Regions from separate parts of the Homo sapiens genome. Here region 1 is linked to region 2. The links are contacts of gene promoters, found by promoter capture Hi-C in blood cells and fetal thymus (Javierre and others, 2016). All regions are on one chromosome and are shown on one strand. The core of a region is centred on a gene start or on the middle of the fragment in contact, and the rest is flanking DNA. Distances in the headings are between cores, read along the strand shown.

What was found. Contacts are between HindIII fragments. The CHiCAGO score rates a contact against its expected background, and 5 or more counts as called.
Region 1: a fragment that was not itself captured here is called in contact with the fragment with the promoter of HOXD11 in region 2 in 1 of 17 cell types (fetal thymus); the score reaches 5.5 in fetal thymus.

Annotation. Positions count from the first base shown.
Region 1 is chr2:176,669,096-176,672,483 of GRCh38, reverse strand. No RefSeq gene overlaps it. Among named protein-coding and RNA genes, the nearest start is that of LINC01117, 33 kb to the right of the region's middle. The HindIII fragment of the contact is 2,126 bases long and covers 908-3,033 here.
Region 2 is chr2:176,105,300-176,108,838 of GRCh38, reverse strand. HOXD11 (homeobox D11) reads right to left here and starts at 1,559. Exons shown (of 2, transcript NM_021192.3): 1 at 703-1,559. The coding sequence starts at 1,483. The HindIII fragment of the contact is 7,005 bases long and covers 1-3,539 here.

The sequences.
Region 1 (3,388 bases), core at 721-3,220, 560 kb before region 2:
GCAATTTATGCAGGAATCTTTTTTTTTTTTGTAATCTCTCTGTGAATTCATTATAACACCATTTTACTGTATATTTAACAAATAAAGCTATCCAAGAAAACAAATAAACAACAACAAGAACAACAAGAAAAACAAGGAATTCAGTAATTTACTACTAACTCAACATTCACCAAGCCTCATGTAATACTTATCTAAGGTAGCCAAACTACTGTTTTCTATGAGAAATCTTAGAATTTACAGCAATTTATGATCAGGACTGATGTCTGAGCTCTTGAAACAAAATTGAGAGCTGGGGTGTCCAGGAACCCAAAGAGAGGTGCTATCTGTTTTGTGTTTTGATTTGATTTGTTTTGCCCCTCATTTCTCAAGGAAGCCTTTCTGTGATCTATAGCCTTTGCAAAGAAGAAGAGTTGTATGGAAGGGCCAGCTTTGGGGTCCTTAGATGAATTATTTGGGAGCATTGCCTAACACTACTTTTACTGACATTCAGCCAGGTCAAGGCCATGGCTCCAAATAAGGAAAAAATAAAAGGCTACTGTCCAGCTGGGTCAGTGGCTGGTATCTTAGCTACTTGCACCAAAGCTCTGGTATAAATATTTGATTGTTTCTCTCTAGATTTTTTGGTTACATTTCTGGAGAAAACAGAAAAGCTACAGTATACATGCCTGTGTTTACACACACACACACACACACACACACACACACACACACACCCACAATCACACAACAGTAAACATTCATTGGAGGTGGAATTCTGGTTTAAGGATCAACTCTGCCCCAGATTGTATAAAAATAATAGTAGCATAATCTTTTAAACCACTGTTTTGATCCCTAGCTTATTTTTACTTTATTAGTTAAATAATTAATATTCACGTTAAGCCAACGACTTATCAGTGGCTTTAAAGCTTTAAAGCAGAATCCAACATGTGAAGTTAATTTCTTCTTTATTCAAACTGTTATAGTGAATATAGATGTGAAATCACTTTACAAATTATAAAGCAATATACAAATGCAAGCTGATATGATCATTAATTGAGTCCATGCATTCATTCATTAAGCAAACATTTACTTAATGTTCATCACATAGCAGCACAGTTCCAGGTACTTGACAGTGTCAAAGTTGCCTGCAGACCCCTTTGATTTTGGTTTGGAACTGTGAACCAGCAATTTATCCAGTGAGTAATATGCCTTTGAAATGGGTCCTGATTTCAAAGAAAAGCATACAAAGCCTTTCAATTTTAAGCTCACAAACAACTGGATTTCACCGAGTAGGATTTTGAATATACACCAAATCTATTCAAAGCAAAACTAGTTTCTTAGCCTCAGCAGCTGCAAGAAATGTTACCTAGCAATTGAAGGCTGGAGGTTTACCCAATGCAAAGTAATGTAGCTATTTGGTGTTTTCTTAATTTTGTCATTGCAGAAAGCAAATGAAAATAATTTATGCCCCTAAGGAGATTTTTCTTCTTTCCTCCTTTCCTTTTTATTTATTGTTGCTGTTGTTAGTGGTTGAGATATTTTGAGAGAAAGTGGGGGAGGGCTGAACAATCATCTTGGTGAGCTGAGTAGATCAAAGGAATAGATTCCATGGGCTGGGCACATTCTAAATGTTCTTTGGGTTTTGATGTGCCAAAATCACACTAGAACCTGTAATTTAAATTTCATTGTCAGAACTTTATCTAGTTAACTTCTACCTTACCTTATCAGAAACAAGGTTTCTTTGAATAGTACAGAGAAAAAAAGAGGTAGAGAGAGAAATCTCCAATAAACCTTTATTTAGGATCTATAGATAAATACTCATTTCACAACTTCTGCTTGTGTTCTACACAAGCCCTCATGGCACAAAGAGAGACTTTTAAAAATTTTTAAATAAGATTCTTGAAAAGGAGTTTCAAGCTCCTTGAGAATAGTGAGTTTATTTTGTTTTATCTCTTCAGTACATAGCCTGGGTCTGGCAGTTTGTTAAATAAGCAAGTGAATGAATGAATTATGATAATACCAGCAGCATCTACCAAAACTACTGAACAAAGTTCCAGCCAGTACTAAGTGACATTCAACCAGAATTCTTTAAAAAGCATCAGCCACAAAGAAAGTTAGCCGGAGCTAGGAACAAAGCTATGCTATGGCCATACAGAGGGAATTTCGTAATGTTGCTCATCCTAGAGAAGTGATTTCCCAAAGGCAGGTCTGTGCAAACATTTTCACAGGTCCAGAGCAAAATGAGGAAATTTTCTTAAGAAAGATTTTATTTTTAGATTATAGTCTTCTCATATTATAGTATAAAAATTTCCCTTCTTGTATGAAACAAAGGAAAAAAGAGACTGGTTGTGTTCACTGTCTTTACAGGAGTGAGGTGGGAGGTAGTTAGCAATTCTGTTAGTCCTCAAACTATTTTTGGAAACTGCCAGGTTATGAAAAGCCAAGGTAAGATAATCAACGGACCACAGAACTTAGCCTCTCAGCCTGCTCTCCTGAAAGTAAATGGGACCTACAACTACAAGTCACAGTGACCTCCTATCACTCTCATGACTGCCTGCAACAAGGTAGTGAAAACATAGAACATGTCCTCCTGATGTCTCCAACTTTCTGGGTGTGATACTGATCACAGGTGAGGTTTTCACAGTCTGTTTCTAATTCATTCCTATGCTGACACAGGCTGCACTTTTAACCAAGTTTTTGCTGCTGAATGCTTCATTGAATTCTCCTTTCCTGGAGAGACTTTAGAATCACTTGATCCCCAGATTCAAACAGCATTCCAAGGCACTGGGGTTAGGGGAAGCAAAACCAAGGGCACGTTTCAAATGACAGGAAAGGCCCCTGCTGACCTCCCTGTACATGGTCCTGTTTGTCATGATGAGACGCTAATTTCAAACCAGGAAGTCTATTTAGTGAAGGAATGGAAACTCCCCACACGACACCAGGACTGTTTAAGATCACACACTCTACTCCGATCACACATTCACAGTGCACTAAAGTGGTTGAAGAAAATCACTCTGATTCTGGGCACTCCAGCTGTCTGAGAGTTCAAAAGCTTAGACCATCATGTGCTTGTTGCTATTATTCATGCTGAGAAAATCTTTTCATCTTTTTTTAAAAGTTGGTCAGAGAAACTGGGTGGTGCTTTTCCTTAAAATAACTTGAACAAAAATTAGAAATGAGATAACATGGTGACAAATGAAAACTCTACATTGTATTCATTCACTGAAAACTTTCCCAGCAATATAGGAAAAACCAGCCAAGCCTGGAAGGCAGCCTCCCTATCTGGGGAAATACTGTGAAGCTGGACAAATGATGAAACTGAGCTTTGAACAAATATACCCCTAATCCAACATAAGACATGGCTGAACAGCAAACTCAATGAGATCTTTGGTTTAGCAGAGAAATTATG
Region 2 (3,539 bases), core at 310-2,809:
GGGCCACTGAGCGAGGGCCAGGCCCTGGCCCCGTTGGGGACGTTCTCTGCCGCGGCCGAAAGGCCCTGCCTGCGTCGTGGGGGATGATATATGGGCGGGCACAGGAGAGAGTGCGGGCGTGGACATGTGTTCACGCCCGGACACACACACACACACACACACACACACACACACACACAGAGCCTGGCACGGAGGTGGGGAAGCAGAGGGCAAGGCAGGCTCTAAACTGGAACCTGAGGGAACAGAGACAAGAGCAGGCCCGCCGGGGCATCTGCTTGACTCCAGCGGCGCGCGTCAGCTAGCGGCTTGGATAAAGTCCAGTGCAAGGATCAAACTCCCCCCACTTCCCCACCCCCCGCCTCTCTCCCTTAAAAGCAGGAGGCTCCGGTGTATGCACTCACACTGGCTTGAAATCTCCCTCCCTCCCTCCCTCCATGGTATCTAGCAACCCCCTGCCCAAAACTGGGAAAAGGCTCTCGACAGCTATTAATGTCCTCCTCGAAGTCTACCTTAAGCCCACCTAAATTGGTTTCCTACCATAAACACACTTTACAACGGCCCAGGAAATCTTATAGGATGTATAAACCTCTTCGAATGCTTATAAAGTAGCACATAAAAAGGCGCAAGCAGAGGGAGGCCTCCGCCCCCCCCCCCTCCCCCGCGGCCCCCGGGCCCACCGCTTGCCCAGTACCCGGTGCCTACCTGCGCTGCTGCTCTTCTCGGCCCCCGCCTCTCCCGGGGGGCCCTCGCCGTCGCCACCGCTGCCTTCTGCTGCCCCCTTGGGCTCCGAGCCAGGGGTCGCCTTGGTGCAGGGACTGCCCCCGCCGCCACCAGCCCCGGTCCTGGGGTCGCCCTTGTCGGCTGCGCCCTCGGGCTGTGGCGGCGCGGGTGGCGGCGGGGGCTGCGGCCCGGCGAACGGGGGCCCGGGCGCTGCCTCGTAGAACTGGTCGAAGCCCTGTGGCAAGATGCCATTGCGGCCCACCGCGCTGTAGAAGTTGGAGGCGGCGCCCGCGGGGCCGTGCGGCGGCCCCGGCGCAGCGCACACCGGCTCAGGCGCCTTGAAGAGCACGTCCGGCCGGCGGCCCGCGGGCGGGAGAAGCTCGCGTTGCATGGCCGCCTCCTCGGCCGCCGCGGCCGCCGCAGCCGCCGCCGCCGCCGCCGCGTAGTAGGGAGCGTAGCCCCCCGCGCCGCCGCCGCCCCCGCCGGGGCCGCCCCCGCTGCTGCCGCCCCCCGCGCTGCCGCCGCCGCCGCCGCCGCGGTACGGCCACTTGGCGCGCTCCAGGCCGTAGTCGCGGAAGGCCACTTCGCGCACGGGCTGGACGTGCGGAGCCAGGTTGGAAGAGTAGGGGAAAGTCATCTGGCAGGACGACGGTTGGGAAAGGAACGAAGGCTTGCTAGCGAAGTCAGACGGGGCCACATAGTAGGCGCAGCCCGGCAGGTACATGCTGGCTGCGCTCTGGCCGCACTCGTCAAAGTCGTTCATGACTCCGCGGCGTGCGCGCCAGCGAGCCTCTGGCCGCTCCCCGCGCAGCCAACCTGAGCCATCGATTGCACAAGAGGCTTGGGCCAGGATCAACTAAGCAAAAATCCCCACCGGGCGCTGACGTGCAATTCATCTTGATTGATTCTGGTGGTAATTATGTCACGTGACGCCATGAAGAGAAATGTCCTTATATCTATATCAACGCTCGCCAACACGCCCCGGGACGGCTCCTGGCGCCGAGACGCGCGCGCTGGGGGCGGATCGGCTGCCCTCTGCCGCCAGCTCTCCCCGGGCGCTCCCTGACCAGGCTGCGCCTCAGGCCGGTCACCTGCGCGCCGCTGGCCGCTGTCACCGCTGGGCGCATCTGCCACCGCCCGAACGGGCCGCCCGCCCGCGTCCGCCCTCCCGCGCCGCTTTAAGTACGCGGACCGAGGCCGGCGGGGAGGAGGAAGGAGGGGGAAGAGGGGGAGGAAGGGGGAAGGGAGAGAAGCAGCGAGCAGAGGGGGGGAAGCCCCGGCTCCAGGCTCCCTAGAAGCTAGGAACTAGGTGTGAGGGTGTGAGGTTCCGAACCCCACCCCCCTTACTGCAGCCGCTCCCTCCCCCGCGACTCTGCCACCCTCTGCAGCTCACCCGCCTGGGAGCTTGTTGCTTCTTGTTCACCGGGCGGGAGTAATTTCGCCACTCTCCAGGGCGCAGGGAGCCCTGATTTACATATTTTTCTGCCCAGCGCGTTCAGAGTGGAGTGACTTGGCTCTTTCCGGTTCTGACCCCAAGGGTGCGAGTGCTGGCCTCGGAAAAACCCAGGCCATTCACCACCTAGGCACTCACCCAGGCCGGGGCCTTCGTGCCCACCCGGCTCTCTTCCCTTCTCTCTGGTTTCCCTCTCTGTTCTTGTCTCTCTTTCTCCTTGCCTCGTTTCTCTTCAGTCTTCTCCCTTCTCTCTCCTGTCTTCACTTCTCTCCTTCCTCTTCTTTTCCGCTTTCCTTCTTCCTTCCTCTTGCTTTCCTGTCTCCCTTCTCCTCTCTCTCTCTGTCCTCTCATCCTCTCCCCTCCTTTCCTCTAAGCTGTGTGTCACTGTCTCTGTCTCTCTCCCCGTTGCCTCTCTGCCTTCTCCTTCAGCACTGAAGCCAGGAGGGGGCTCAGCCCGTGGTCCCCAGCCTCCCTAGAATCTGGGGAGTCTGGTGAACAAAAGGATCTGGAGTCCTACTCTTAGGGTGCTTGGCTTCCCGCTGGCTCCCCACAAGAGACAACCCCCACACACTCGCACCTTCGTCCTCCTCACCCCTCTGCTTTCAGGCCTAGCCTGGGTGTCCGCCTTATACCTAGACCCTTCACTGCTTCGGAGCCCCGCCAAGGCCTGCGAATCCACGCCGCGTTTCCCCGAGGCTCTTCTGGTACCCTTGGGTCTGCATGGTCACTTCAGCCCCTCCCCCAAGATAGGTTGTCTCTCTAAGGGCTCTCAGCGGAGCCTGACTCCCTCCTGGAGCCCCTCTGTGTCACCTGGCTCTGAGGCAGACTCTTCGTGGGGCACCCCATCCACTCCCCCAAGGCCTCACTCTCCTCCCAGCCTGCCGCGACCCTCTCCTAGCCCATGGGTCCAGGCAAGGCCTGGGATCCCACCTCCGAGTGAGCAGACGCTTTTCAAAGGTAAACCGTCTCTTCCCAAACCCAAATCCCAGAACCGAGGGCAGGAGGCTGCCCCTTTCCCCAAGATTCCTCCGCCCAGGCAATCCCAGCGCTGGGGCCTGGGCCTCAGTCCTATACCCAGGGCAGGCGGCGCTGGCTGTGATGCTGGTTCCCTCCCTGGCCCGGGCTGCTGCAGTGCCGGTGCTGTGCGCTCTGCCCACCGTGCGGACAGACAGAGAAAAGGCGGGTGGTCTGAGCTAATATCTATTTTCTGGCTGATGTACCCCCCCTTCCTCTTTTTCTCCTCCCTCCCTTTCTCCCTTCCTCTCTCCTTCCTCCGCCCCTTCCCATGTCTTCTTCCCTCCCCCAACACTGCGCAAATAGGTCTGTGGCGACTGGAGGGCATCGAGCCTCCCCCAACTAGAACTGC